Regions from separate parts of the Homo sapiens genome. Here regions 1 and 3 are each linked to region 2. The links are contacts of gene promoters, found by promoter capture Hi-C in blood cells and fetal thymus (Javierre and others, 2016). All regions are on one chromosome and are shown on one strand. Each heading gives the region's core, a stretch centred on a gene start or on the middle of the fragment in contact. The rest is flanking DNA. Distances are from core to core; before and after follow the strand shown.

The links. The method cuts DNA at HindIII sites, captures the fragments that hold promoters and counts their contacts. A CHiCAGO score of 5 or more calls a contact.
Region 1: a contact is called between a fragment that was not itself captured here and the fragment with the promoter of BEST1 in region 2, in 15 of 17 cell types (neutrophils, erythroblasts, megakaryocytes and 12 more). The highest score is 32.9, in neutrophils.
Region 3: a fragment that was not itself captured here is called in contact with the fragment with the promoter of BEST1 in region 2 in 17 of 17 cell types (neutrophils, total B cells, naive CD4 T cells and 14 more); the score reaches 23.7 in neutrophils.

Annotation. Positions count from the first base shown.
Region 1 is chr11:62,084,328-62,088,479 of GRCh38, reverse strand. No RefSeq gene overlaps it. Among named protein-coding and RNA genes, the nearest start is that of LINC02733, 4.1 kb to the right of the region's middle. The HindIII fragment of the contact is 4,419 bases long and covers 231-4,152 here.
Region 2 is chr11:61,946,941-61,951,602 of GRCh38, reverse strand. BEST1 (bestrophin 1) reads right to left here and starts at 1,252. Exons shown (of 11, transcript NM_004183.4): 1 at 1,176-1,252. The HindIII fragment of the contact is 17,311 bases long and covers 1-4,662 here.
Region 3 is chr11:61,794,480-61,798,744 of GRCh38, reverse strand. It overlaps FEN1 (flap structure-specific endonuclease 1), which reads right to left. Exons shown (of 2, transcript NM_004111.6): 2 at 1,507-3,404. The coding sequence starts at 3,383. The coding sequence ends at 2,241. Among named protein-coding and RNA genes, the nearest start is that of FEN1, 3.7 kb to the right of the region's middle. RefSeq lists an enhancer at 2,899-3,399. The HindIII fragment of the contact is 2,888 bases long and covers 1,032-3,919 here.

The sequences.
Region 1 (4,152 bases), core at 1,191-3,690, 140 kb before region 2:
GACATGCTTGGACTTTCTGGTTTGTCCCAAACATTCCTCTTTCTTAAACAACTAGTCATTTTATTCTAGGTCTAAATTTACCATACAAGATTCTTTCTTATATAAAATTATTTCTCTTTAAGCTTTCTTACCCCCCCAAAAAAACCCTCTTTATTTCTATAACTTTCTTTATATCTCTCTTATTTCCTGGTTCCTTTTACCTTGTTTTATACATAACCTTTAAATAAGCTTTGAATTTGACAAAATTTGTTCACCTTTTTAAAAAGGACACTTTTCTTAAGAAACAATTTTTTCATACAATATATATTTTTATTTGAAAATACCCAAATAATGAAATATCTACTATTTAATTTAACTCTAGATTCTAAATTATGACCAGTTTGTCTACAAGTATTTATCTCATTACATTTACCTAGTTATTTTATTTTGTTTACCTAGATTATTTATGAAAACTGTGATAGTCATCATTTAAAGCTATGAAACTTGCCACTGCAAAATTCTAACTGAGACAATGAAAAAGATATGACCTAACTGACTCCATCTTGCTTCTAACCTCCAAGCTGTCCTTGTTCATTCCTGAATTTTGGGAGGAACTTAATTTATAGTTTAGCATTGAAACAAAGACAATAGCAGTCCTTTCCCAAAACAAACCTCCTTACTGCCTGTAGACTAGACTGCCTAAAGCCACAAGATTAGAAGTTATGGTAATTTTACTAAGTAATTCCAGATGTAGCTATTTTTGTTAAACAATATCAATGTCTTGTTTATTAAAGATCGGCAAGCAAGAATCATTCTGTTTTGGGCTGGGTTTATGGTTTTGTAACCCCTGTGCCAAATTTTGACACCTTATAGTATTTGGCTAGGATAAGTATGAAATTGCTAGATTAATAAATGCAAATAAAATGTATGCTGGAAATTCTTAAGACATTTCTAATATTATTTTACCAATAATTTTAAAGCTAGCTTACTTATTAAAGATTTTACTTAAGTCATGTAAACTTGAAAAATAATTTGACTAGTTTTTCCTTTTTCTGATAAAGTATTTTATTTCAATGCTTTTATTTTTCTTTAAGCCAATTAATTAGACCTCTTTTATATATTTTTGGTAGTGAAACATTGTGTATACAACACATAAATACATAGATGTATTAGGAATGCCAATAGAAATACATCTTATAGGTTGGGTGCAGTGGCTCACGCCTATAATCCCAGCACTTTGGGAGGCTAACATGGGTGGATCACCTGAGATCAGGAGCTTGAGACCAGCCTGACCAACATGGTGAAACCCCACCTCTACTAAAAATACAAAAAATTAGCCGGGCATGGTTGTGGGCTCTTGTAATCCCAGCTACTCAGGAGGCTGAGGCAGGAGAACTGTTTGAACCTGGGGGATGGAGGTTGCAGTGAGCCAAGATCGTGCCACTGCATTCCAGCCTGGGCAACAGAGAGAGACTCTGTCTCAAAAAAAAAAAAAAAAAAAAAAGGCCAGGCGCAGTGGCTCATGCTTGTAATCCCAGCACTTTGGGAGGCTGAGGTGGGCAGATCACGAGGTCAGGAGTTTGAGACCAGTCTGGCCAACATAGTGGAACCCTGTCTCTACTAAAAATAAAAAAAATTATCTGGGTGTGGTGGCGGGCACCTGTAATCCCAGCTACTTGGGAGGCTGAGGCAGGAGAATCGTTTGAAGCTGGGAGCGGAGGTTGTAGTAAGCCATGATTGCGCCACTGCACTCCAGGCCAGTGGACAGTGCGAGACTCCATCTCAAAAAAAAAAAAAAAAAAAAAAAAAAGAATTACATCTTATAGACTTAATAAACACACCTTTTTTTTTTTTTCCTATCTTAGACTTTCAGATACTTGATAACCTGTTTCACAACACTAGGCAGTTGTCAGTTAAATAGCCTTAAATGTGCATATTAAAGGAAAGAACTCAGCTGAAAATCAAATAGAAAAATTTACATCATAAGGTACAGAGAGTAAAAGTCTGGTGGTGCTAGAGGAAGATTAAAGATGGATGCCAAATTGAACATAAAATTATAGAAATCTATCATAGGATTGTATAAGGGGATCAATTTTATTTAGATAGGGCCTACTTATCTTTTAACTGGATCTCTGAGCTCTGGGAAAGCCCACGTTGAATCTTGGGTCTCCAAAAAGGGAGAATTATTATGAGGTTAGACCATGTGATGCTTTTACTGTACACTTAAAAAACATTTTTTTTCGACAAAGACATTTCCAAGTGTCTAAACCACACTTTTCCTCAAAAACCCAAAAGTAAGGCCAGGCACAGTTCCTCATGCCTACAATCCCAGCACTTTGGGAGGCCGAGATGGGTGAATTGCTTGAGCCCAGGAATTCAAGACCAGCCTGGGCATTAGAGTGAGACTGCATCCCTACCAAAAAAAAAAAAAAGAATTAAATAAAATAAAAAGAAGGGATGCAGGCCTGATAACACCTTGGTTTTTAGCTCATAAAGACCCATTTTGGACCTCTGACCCCAGAACTATAAGATAATAAATGTGTGGGGTGGTTTTGGTTTTTGGAATTTTTTTCTTTTTCTTCTTTCTTTCTTTATTTTTTAGAGACAAGGTCTCACTGTGTTGCCAGGCTGGTCTCAAACTCCTGAGCTCAAGCAATTTTCTCACCTCGGCCCCCCAAAGTGCTGGGATTACAGGCATGCACCACTGAGCCCAGCCTTGTGTTGTTTTAAACCACGAAATTTGTGGTAATTTGTTTCAACAACCATAGGAAATTATTTCACCCACCCTGCTTGTTTGTTTTCTCTTTCTGCTGTCTGAAGTTTCTCCCTTTCAGTTTTAGAGCTGAGAAGATCTATCAAACATGAATTTGGCCACAAGCTGACTCTTTCTCTAGGGGTAAATCTTGACCATTTACTAAAATGGGGAAAACAGATCAGTAATGACAGGAGTGAAGAGAAGGCTAGCTAGTGTATGTCCAGTGCTTTGTAAAGTTGCAAGGCTTTTTTCCTAAACCACACATATCCCACATATACACCTAAAAACCTAACACTACAAGGCCATACATGAATTGCCAGAATTATACAGACCTTTTCTGAAATGGTTATAACCTGAATGGTATAAGCATTGGACAAAAACACGTTGAAATCTGAGATCTCTGCAGTTGTATCCCCACAATATTTGAAGAAATAATTTATTGCCAGGCATGATGGCTCACGCCTGTAATCCCAACACTTTGCGAGGCCAAGGCGGGCGGATCACGAGGTCAGGAGTTCGAGATCAGCCTGGCCAATATGGTGAAACCCCGTCTCTACTAAAAATACAAAAATTAGCCAGGCATGGTAGTGGGAGCCTGTAATCCCAGCTACCTGGGAGGCTGAGGCAGGAGAATTGCTTGAACCCGGGAGGCGGAGGTTGCAGTGAGCCGAGATCACGTCACTGCACTCCAGCCTAGGTGACAGAGTGAGACTCCATCTCAAAAAATAAATAAATAAATAAATAAATAAATAAATAAATAAATAAAATAAATATGATTGGGTACGATCTAACACTAACAGGCTGAATGGGGAAACCCAACAAGGCCCATCTGATCAGATTCTTCTTGGTCTCTCTGTGCAGCATTCCTTCCAGGGAATAGGGCAGGACCTGTCTGAAATGAGGGTATTGTGACCTACAATCAAAGTAGGCCAGAGAATTTCCTCATGACCAGCTCCTAGACAGAAAGATAGGAAAAGAAGCAGGTAAAAGGTGGGGAGAAAAAAGGAGCAGGTAAAAGGTGGGCAGGAGAAGGTCAGAGAGAGAGAGAGAGATTCTGTTTCCTGAAGCCTGCTTGTGAGAACTAAAGTGCCCTAACATTATAACAGAAACTGTAATAACAAGAGCTATGGGAGTTATAAGCCAAGAATCATGGGTGAAAACATTTTATATATATATATATGAAAGACATATATATGTTTATAACACATATGTATATGAAATGCATACATATATGAGACACACATATATGTTTTTTCATCCATGGTTCTTGGTTTTATATAAATATCACAACATGTATTTTCAAAAGTGTGAAGCAATTGAAATTCTCCTACTTGAGGACCATAAATAGTTTAATCACTTTATTTTATTTATTTATTTATTTATTTATTTTAGACAGAGTCTCGCTTTGTTGCCCAGGC
Region 2 (4,662 bases), core at 3-2,502:
ACGCAAGAAAGTGAGCCCAGAGGCTGCCCTTTGCTTTGGCAGGGAAGACGTAGATAGGCGTGTGCATTGCCATGTGCCTTTAACTTTCTATAATCACTGGGCGCAGTGGCTCATGCCTATAATCCCAGCACTTTGGGAAGTCGAGGCAGGTGGATCACCTAAGGTCAGGAGTTCGAGACCAGCCTGGCCAACATGGTGAAACCCTGTCTCTACTAAAAATACAAAAAAATTATCCAGGCGTGGTGCGGGTGCCTGTAATCCCAGCTACTCAGGAGGCTGAGGCAGGAGAATCGCTTGAACCCAGGAGGTGGAGGTTGCAGTGAGCTGAGATCACGCCATTGCACTCCAGCCTGGGTAAGAAGAGCAAAACTCTGTCTAAAAATAAATAAATAAATAAATAAATAATACAATGACAAAGGCAGTAACAGCAGCAATGTCTACACACTAAGCTCAGGTCCTCTGGGCTAGGCAGTGTTCTCAGCCCATCTTGTTCGTTAGCTCCCAAGCTCTCTCAACCACCCTAGTGTGAGAAGTATGGAAGGGACCAGGCAGCCCTGTCCACCACCATATTCCCATTCCCATAATGGAACCTAGCTGGTAGAGATGCTCAAATGATGTTTACTGAATGGTGGCTCCAGGGCCTTTCCACCTGCTGATCTTCCTGCCTGGAGGAAGCTCTTCCTGAGATACCTGCATGGTTCCTTCCCACTCCAGGTTCCCTTTAGAAAGGATGTTCCCAACCATCCAACCTGGAAATAGAGCCCCACTGCCACCGGTGCTCTGTGTCTCCTCACCTTGCTTGATATTTCTAGAGAGCACTTATCACTACTTGAAATTATACAGGATATCTGCCTGTTTCCTGCCTGTTTCCTCCTCAGAATGGAAGCTCCTCTTGTGTTCTCGTAGAAGGCGCTCAATAAAAATTTACTGAAGCAGTGATTGATGCCCCCTCCATTCTTTCCCTGTGTGTTTTGCTGCAGCCACACTGGCTGGCTGTGCCTGATGCACACCAAGCTCATTCCCACCTCAGGGCATTTGCACAGACACACAGGTGCCCACACACCTGCGCATGTGCTGCCTGTGTGTGCATATCCCACACAAATACGCAAGATGGCCATCCAACCCTGAAGGCCTCAAAGCCCCAGCCCAGTCCACCTGGGGCACCTTGTACTCACAGGTGGGGTTCCAGGTGGGTCCGATGATCCCACAGAAGGTCTGGCGACTAGGCTGGTGGGACTCCCTGGGACTCTGTGGCCAGTGCCCCTGCCCACTCTTAGAGGCTGGCACTGCCCACGTGAGTGCTGAGCCGCCGTCACTTGACTCCCTAAGCCAGGACCTCCACAAAGGAGTCCTTGTCTTAGTCCCTTCTTGTAATCTGCTCAGAAGCAACGGCTAGCACAGCCTGGCCATGGCCCCTCTAATTTCTTCTTGGAGGGTGTTGGGCTGAGACCAGGGCTGGAATTTAGGGCAACACCCCCTCTACCATGGCCCTAAAATCCAGAGGCTAAAGGATCTGCTCCACCAGTGTTCTGACCCCTGAGGCCTTGCAGAGAGAGTTGGGGGTTAGGGGGCTGTGCTGAGCTTCAACTTCTGTGCCAGGAACTCTCCAGGAAGGAGGAGCCTCTGACTAGGCCCTGGGGTCTTTGACAGCCCTGTGGGCTATGGAAAGAATGAATACCGGGCTGCAGTCAACAGTCCTGGTTTCTGGTCCCAGCCTTGCCACCTGTGTGTGGTGACCCCGGGTAGGTTTCAGCTCCTCTCTCAGCCTCAGTGCCCTTATCTGAAAAGGATGGTGTTGCTTGGGAATTTCATCACCCTAGTAAAATGACAGAATTCTGCATATGCTGACGAGGAGCTCTGATTGGCTGCTGGTGACATCATACGTTATTCTGGCTGTGATTGGCTGGCAGGGCCCATCAGTAAGTTGCTTCAGAGAGATGGAAGGAGAAGCCTGCCGGGGCTGGTGGAGGGGGGTGAGTCTGGTGGGGGTTGACAGAACAGCCCTGGAGTTTATGCTGCTGGCTTCCAGCCAGCCAGTGCAATATGGGAATAAATGCCCAGATCCCCACGGGCAGCTGGTGAAAATCTCAGCATGTGATTCAATAAATTTTAATACATCAATCCATACTCAAGGGCTCTCCTAAGCTGTTGGAAGTGGTGGGTGTCTACCTACACACTCCTCTTGTATTGTTCAATGAAGAGAGCAGAGCTCTAGGCAGCAGTGGTTCTTGGTCTTTAGAGGCCGTAAGAATCGCCCAAATGTTTATTAAACGGGCAGTTTTCTGGATCTTTCTCCAGAGTCTGAGTCTGTGGCCTTAGGGATGTTGCATTTTAATCAAGCACTGCAGGGGATTATGAGATGTGTGGTTTTGGGACTAAACTTCCAGAAGCCCTGATTTTATAATATGACCTTGTGTCTTAAACCCACTCTCATCCTCCCTTTCCTGTCACCCTCTCTCTCTGAAATGTACTAAGCGTTAACTATGCTGAGATTGCAGGTGATTTTTCTACACACCACTTTTTTTTTCACTTTAAGTTCTGGGATACGTGTGCAGAATGTACAGGTTTGTTACATAGGTATACATGATGTGCAGGTTTGTTACATAGGTATACGTGTGCCATGGTGGTTTGCTGCACCTGTCAACCCATCATCTAGGTTTTAAGCCTTGCGTGCATTAGGTATTTGTCCTAATGCTCTCCCTCCCCTTGTCCCCCACCCCCACACACCATTTTTGCCTTTATATAATTATCTGCCTAGAAAAAAAAACACTATTTCGCAATGACCTTGAATACTTTTCTAATCATGGCAAACAATAAAGCTGTTGTTATTATAAGACTCTCTTTAGAGGCAGCCTTGTAGGAGTATTTACTGCCTCCCCGCTGCCCCATCGCTGTCCTCAACTGATATGGGGAAAGAAGCAGGTTCACTTCAGCCTCAGTCTCCTCATATGCAAAATGGGACAACGATGCCTACCTTGGCAGCCGAATGAGAATGATGGATGGGACATGTGTCCGTCAACTCTCCAAACCACTGGTGCCTGTGCCTGACCCCTACGAATTCTGATTTGATTGGTCTGGATGGACCCCAGGTGTTGGGATTGTTCAAGTTCTCCAGGTGATTCTGATTTTATGGCCTGTGCTGAGTCATTGCTTAATGGATTATTTCCCTATCCTGTATTCCCTTCCCAACCAACACATCCTGAAACTCAAGAGCTTTCCATTTAGAAGATGATAAATATATATTATATATATTTATATATTAACATATGTAAATATGTATTAATATGTCTATAATATTACAAATATATTTGTATGTACACATATATTTATACATATAAATATATAAGTAAATATATAACTATATTTTTGAGACAAGGTCACCCAGGCTGGAGTGCAATGGGTGTGATTTTGGCTCATTGCAACCTCCACTTCCCAGGCTCAAGCAATCCTCCCATCTCAGCCTCCCAAGTCGCTGGGACTACAGACGCACACCACCACACCCAGCTATTTTTTTTTTTTTTATAGAGATAGGGTCTCACTACATTACCCAGGCTGGTATTGAGCTCTAAGTTCAAGCAGTCCTCCCACCTAGGCCTCCCAAAGTGGTGGGATTACAGGAGTGAGCCGCCACACTCGGCCAATAAGTATGTTTTAACTAAAGTTAACACACATGCCTGGCACCATGCCTGGAACATTGATGCTCATTCTGTACTCTCTGAAGGAATAAATGAAAATCCTGCCTTTGTGGAGACAAGTTCTTGCCTTCCCTGTGGTGGCCACTAGAGAGCGTGCTTGACTAGCTGGCTCTGGCTGGGGAAGCCTGGTTCACTGGTCAGGATCAGTGCAGACCACGGAGCTGGCACTGCTTCATCTCCCTGACCCCGACCAGCAGCCATAGAGCCATGAGAGGGAGTTGGAGACACTAGAGTCCCTCCTCCCTGTTCCCTGAACCGCAGGCTCCTTGGCAATATCCCAGGAGTACCACCAGGACCATAGACAGTGCATGGCCAGTCTCCCTTCCCCTCCCAGAGGCCCCAGCATGTCCCCAGAGACATCCCATGAGCAGCTGCTCCTGGCCCTGCCCCAGAGCTGAGACAGGCACACCCTGGCACAAGTCATGGTCTCTCCTACTGGGTCTCAGCTATGAAAATGTCCCCAGTTAGCCAGGCACGGCTCAGGCACACAGCAAAGTCATGAGTGCTGATTGACCCAAGCCATGCCTGGAACAAGAGTCCCAGGATTGACCCCTGCAGAGATGGCACCCAACCCAGTCAAGGTCGCCCTCTTCTGCTTTCCGTTCCGCAAAGAAAATATTCGCCAAACCATTTCTCCTTCCAGAACTGAGCCTAATCTGATTCCTGCCTGTACGTATTCATAGTCAAAAAATTTGGAAACACTTAAATAACAACTCTAACACAGAATGGCAAGGCCTAAGATCTGTGCCAAGTGCACAGAGGTCAGGGAAATTTTTACAGACAATGGGGCATTTCGGTTGGGTCTTGAAGCATGAGTAGGAGTTCATGGAGCTGAGAAGAATGGAAGAGCATTACACATCAGGGGAACAACCTACGGAAAGTCATAGAGCTATTCCTGAAGGATGATTCAGTATCGCATGTTTATCCACATTTTACAAAGGAGGACACTGAAGCTCAAGGCCTGCCT
Region 3 (4,265 bases), core at 1,226-3,725, 150 kb after region 2:
AGAGCTTGACTGCAGAGCAGTGCCTCTTAACCATCCAACTAGAACAGCTCTGAGCAAAAACATTTGTAGGCATCATTAATCTTCCCTGCAGTGTGCACACAGAAAGTCAGATTAACAAAATTCTATAGGAGACAAACTTACCTTCAAAAGACAAAAGAAAACCACTACATTCTTGACCACCACAGGGTATAAGCCCTTAATTATTAAGAGCTACTGCACTGAGGCAATAACTCCTAAGAAATCTTAACATTTCGCCAGGCAAGGTGGCTCATCCTGTAATCCCAGCACTGGGAGAGAATGGCACACGTAATCCTAGCCTTTAGGAGGCCAAGGCGGGAGGATTGCTTGAGCCCAGGAGTTTAAGACCAGCCTGGGCAACAGTGAGATCCCATCTTTACAAAAAATTGAAAAATCATCCAGGCATGGTGGCCTGTGCCTGTAATCCCAGCTGCTTGGGAGGCTGAGGTGGGAGAATCACTTGAGCCCAGGAGGCTGAGGCTGCAGTGAGCCAAGATCGCACTACTGAACTCCAGCCTGGGTGACAGAGCAAGAGACTCTGTCTCAAAAAAAAAAAAAAAAAAGAAATCTTACCGTCTTTAGTTCCTATCACCATTACTGCAGATTTAGAAGCAATCTACCTGAATCAGAAAATAGAGCTCAAATAAGTTGTGTGGCTTGGTATAATCTGGGAAAATCAGTTTCAAAAGTTACCTGCCCTTGGGATAGAACTTTTTGTCAACACCAGTTTTCAAAAAGTACCCTAGTTATGAGGCCGTTGCTGGGTAAACTTTATCCCATTCCAGCTTCAACCAGAGGAACCTGTACATCCTAAAGTTTCACATAAGATTACACTTGAAGAATAGGTTTCTCCATTAAAAGACTTGAAAACTACTGGTCTTCAGGCTCCCTACCTGTTTAATCTGTCAAGACATTGCCAGCTTAAATTTCGGACAGTTACATAAGTGTCCCTGTTAACTTCAAATGGCCCTGACAGGAATGCTAAAACGTCAGACATTCAAATGGGCCAAGCTTTATCAGGATTATAAAACTTTCAAAGCTCAAAAACATGCCATCTCTATGGGAAACAGTATCTTGGATTTGATGTTACAAAAGGAACAAGAAAATGGTTTCTGAATGGCAGCTTTCAGTTTACAAGTAGTGGCAAAGTAAATGCTTGGATGTTATGAGGTAGTTGATCTAAATTGTGAGGCTTTCTTAAAGGCACTCCTTTGATCTCATGGAGTGAGAGACTAGAAATCTATTCAACGTATTAAAACTCCTCTCCCAGCAAAATAAAATAAACAAAACATCCTCCTCCTAATGGCTGAAGTTCCATCTAGCTGCTATGGCCATTTTATGGAGCATGGTGCCATCTTGTGGCCACTCTCAAACCACCCATTGTTAATCAAGTGCAATTACAGCATGTTAAGAGTGAAAAGGAAAGCTATTTGGAGCCATGGTCACTTGGGATATTTTCAAATGTTCTCAAAGAACATGACATTTTGGTTACTTTTAGAATTTTATTGACTTTTTTCTTCATAACTTTAAAACAAAAACAGCGCATGAAAACCAGTGTCTTATTCCAAAGTCTCAACTCAGCTGATTGCCAGGTGAACATCACCATCTTACTCCTCTGAATAACTAGACACAAATTACATAGCAAGTTCGAGTTTCTGCCCACCCAAGACACAGCCAGTAATCAGTCACAAACACAGACACAGCCAACTCCAGGGGCTCCAGCTTTCTGCCCATCTTCTCTCAGCAGTTCCTCCCATCTGCTAAGATGCGCCTTCCTGGTGGCTCTCTCTCAAGGTGGGTCAAGGCTGAACAAGACAGAAAAGCACAGTCTAGGTCCACCATCACCTCCCACTGGCCACCAGTTGGCCAGCCAGGAAATCATTTCTGTACATCTTTTGTCTCCCCCTTTTATCTCCCTCTCTCTTCTCCAAAACTTGTTGCTATCTATCACTTTCATGTAACAATGGACTTAGTGTCCATTAAACTGCCTGAGAAGTGGTTTGAGCCTGACATATTTTCCTGAGCTAAAAAAGGAAAAGTACCTCTGTGGCCTTCTTGCCATTAAGATCAAGTAAAAAAGGGACTAGCACTACTGAAAAGGGTCACGCTAGAAAAGCCTTAGAATCCTCTCTCCACCCCGTGAAGGTTTCTCTAGCTGTAGCTCTTAAGGGTACAAGACGGCAAATATTCTGGGGTGAAGGAGGTATAATGGGGAAACACATTTATTTTCCCCTTTTAAACTTCCCTGCTGCCCCAGTCTTTGCCTTCTTCTTAGTGGATCCCTTGGGTTCTGGCTCCTTGCGCTTAGCTGAAGAGAGTGAGCCGGTCACCTTGAAGAAATCATCCAGGCGGCCCTGGGTGCTGCCTTGGCGGCTCTTACTCAGCCTCTTGACCCCACTGCGGATTCGCTCCTCAGAGAACTGCTTTTCACCACACATGAACTTGATCAGCTCTTCTTCATTTGGCTCGCTCCACTTCAGCTCCACAGACTCTGGGTCCAGCACCTCAGGTTCCAAGAAGAGCTGGTGAGCCTCCTTGTGGAGCCAATTTTCTGGCACAGGGTACTTGTTGGGGTCAAGTCGCCGCACGATCTCCTCGATGCTCTTGTGCTTCTGGATGAGGTCCACAGCCCGCTTGGGCCCAATACCCCGGATACTCTCACAGTAGTCACTGCCTAGCAGGATGCACAGATCCACAAACTGTTCCTGGTTCAGGCCCAGCTCCTGCAGAATCCGGCTCAGGTGGAATTCCTGGATTGGCAGCTTTTTGGCTTCACTGGCAGTCAGGTGTCGCATTAGCACAGGGCTGCCGAAGGTGAGGCAGTCCATGTCCTCGGTAGCCGCAGCATAGACTTTGCCAGCCTTCACCAGGGCAGCACAGCTGGCCTCTGCCTCACTGGGTGCATCAAGATAAGGGATGCCCATGAGGCTCAGCAGATGTTTGCACTCATCATTGTGCTGCTTAGTGACCTTCACCAGCCGCTTAGTGAATTTTTCCACCTCCTGCTCGGCCCCAGCAGCCTGAGCCTGCTGCAGCTGCTTCTCTGCCTCAGCCCGCCGCTCACTGCGTTTGGCCAGCTCGCCTGACTTGAGCTGTGGCGGCTTGCCATCAAAGACATACACGGGCTTGATGCCGTTCTCCATCATGCGAATGGTGCGGTAGAACATGCCCATCAGGTGGCTGGTGGTCTCACCCTCCTCATTCTGCAGCACATCCCCACCCTGGCGAACAGCAATCAGGAACTGATAAATGCTCATAGAGGCATCAATGGCCACCTTACGGCCAAAGTAGCTCTTGATGTCATTCTCCCGGATGGCACTGGGGGCCACATCAGCAATTAGTTTGGCCAGGCCTTGAATTCCCATGGCAACACAGAGGAGGGATGACTAAAAAAGAAAGGCAAGTCAGAGACGGAGGAAAGGAGAAAGGTTATAACTGGTGTTATCTCACCAACTTCATGCCTTCAACTAAATTCCACACAACAAAAAGGACACCATGTCAGCACTGCTAAAGATAAAAAGATGAACAAGGTCCCCATTCTCAAAAAACTCAGTCTAGCAGGAGAATTTACTCAATAGTAAGGCTCAACGAGTACCAGAAATTGAACCACGTGCTTAGAGAAATAAGATACTGTTGATATTCTAAGGTAGCAGCATTATTTATTACACAAAAAAAACCTGCAACATAGGTCTCCATCAAGGACCACAGAAGGCCAGGATGCTTGGCCTGGCTTGAGGAGTCCAGGGACCATAATGGCAGACCTGAAAGACAGGCAAATACACCAGCTAAACAAACAGATCTGATTTGTTTTGAGTCTCTGGAGAACCCTGACTAATAAGGCAGCCTTGAAAAAGGATTGCAAACATATCTGAATGGAGGTGATGTGGCTTTCTCACAAGCTTCTCTAAACTCTCTTCATCATCGCCTCAGCACATAAGAGTTTCTACTTTTATTATAATGTTGCTAGAGTTTCAAGTCTTTCCCTTTGCGTTTTCTCGCCACCACTCAGTCTGAAATGTTAACTCCATGGCTCCTCCCCAGGTCCTGATTTAGGGGTCTGGCATGCTGTAGTCACTGGGCTCAAAAGAGTATTGCACTTCAGAGTTCAGTGTTTCCCAGATAGCAGTGTTTCCCAAATCACCCTCACGATTTTTGCTACTTCCAACTAAAACCCGTACTTTCATTCACTTAGAATTTTTTTTAAAAAACTAAACTGGAAAACTCATAAGCAATAATATTTGTGTTCT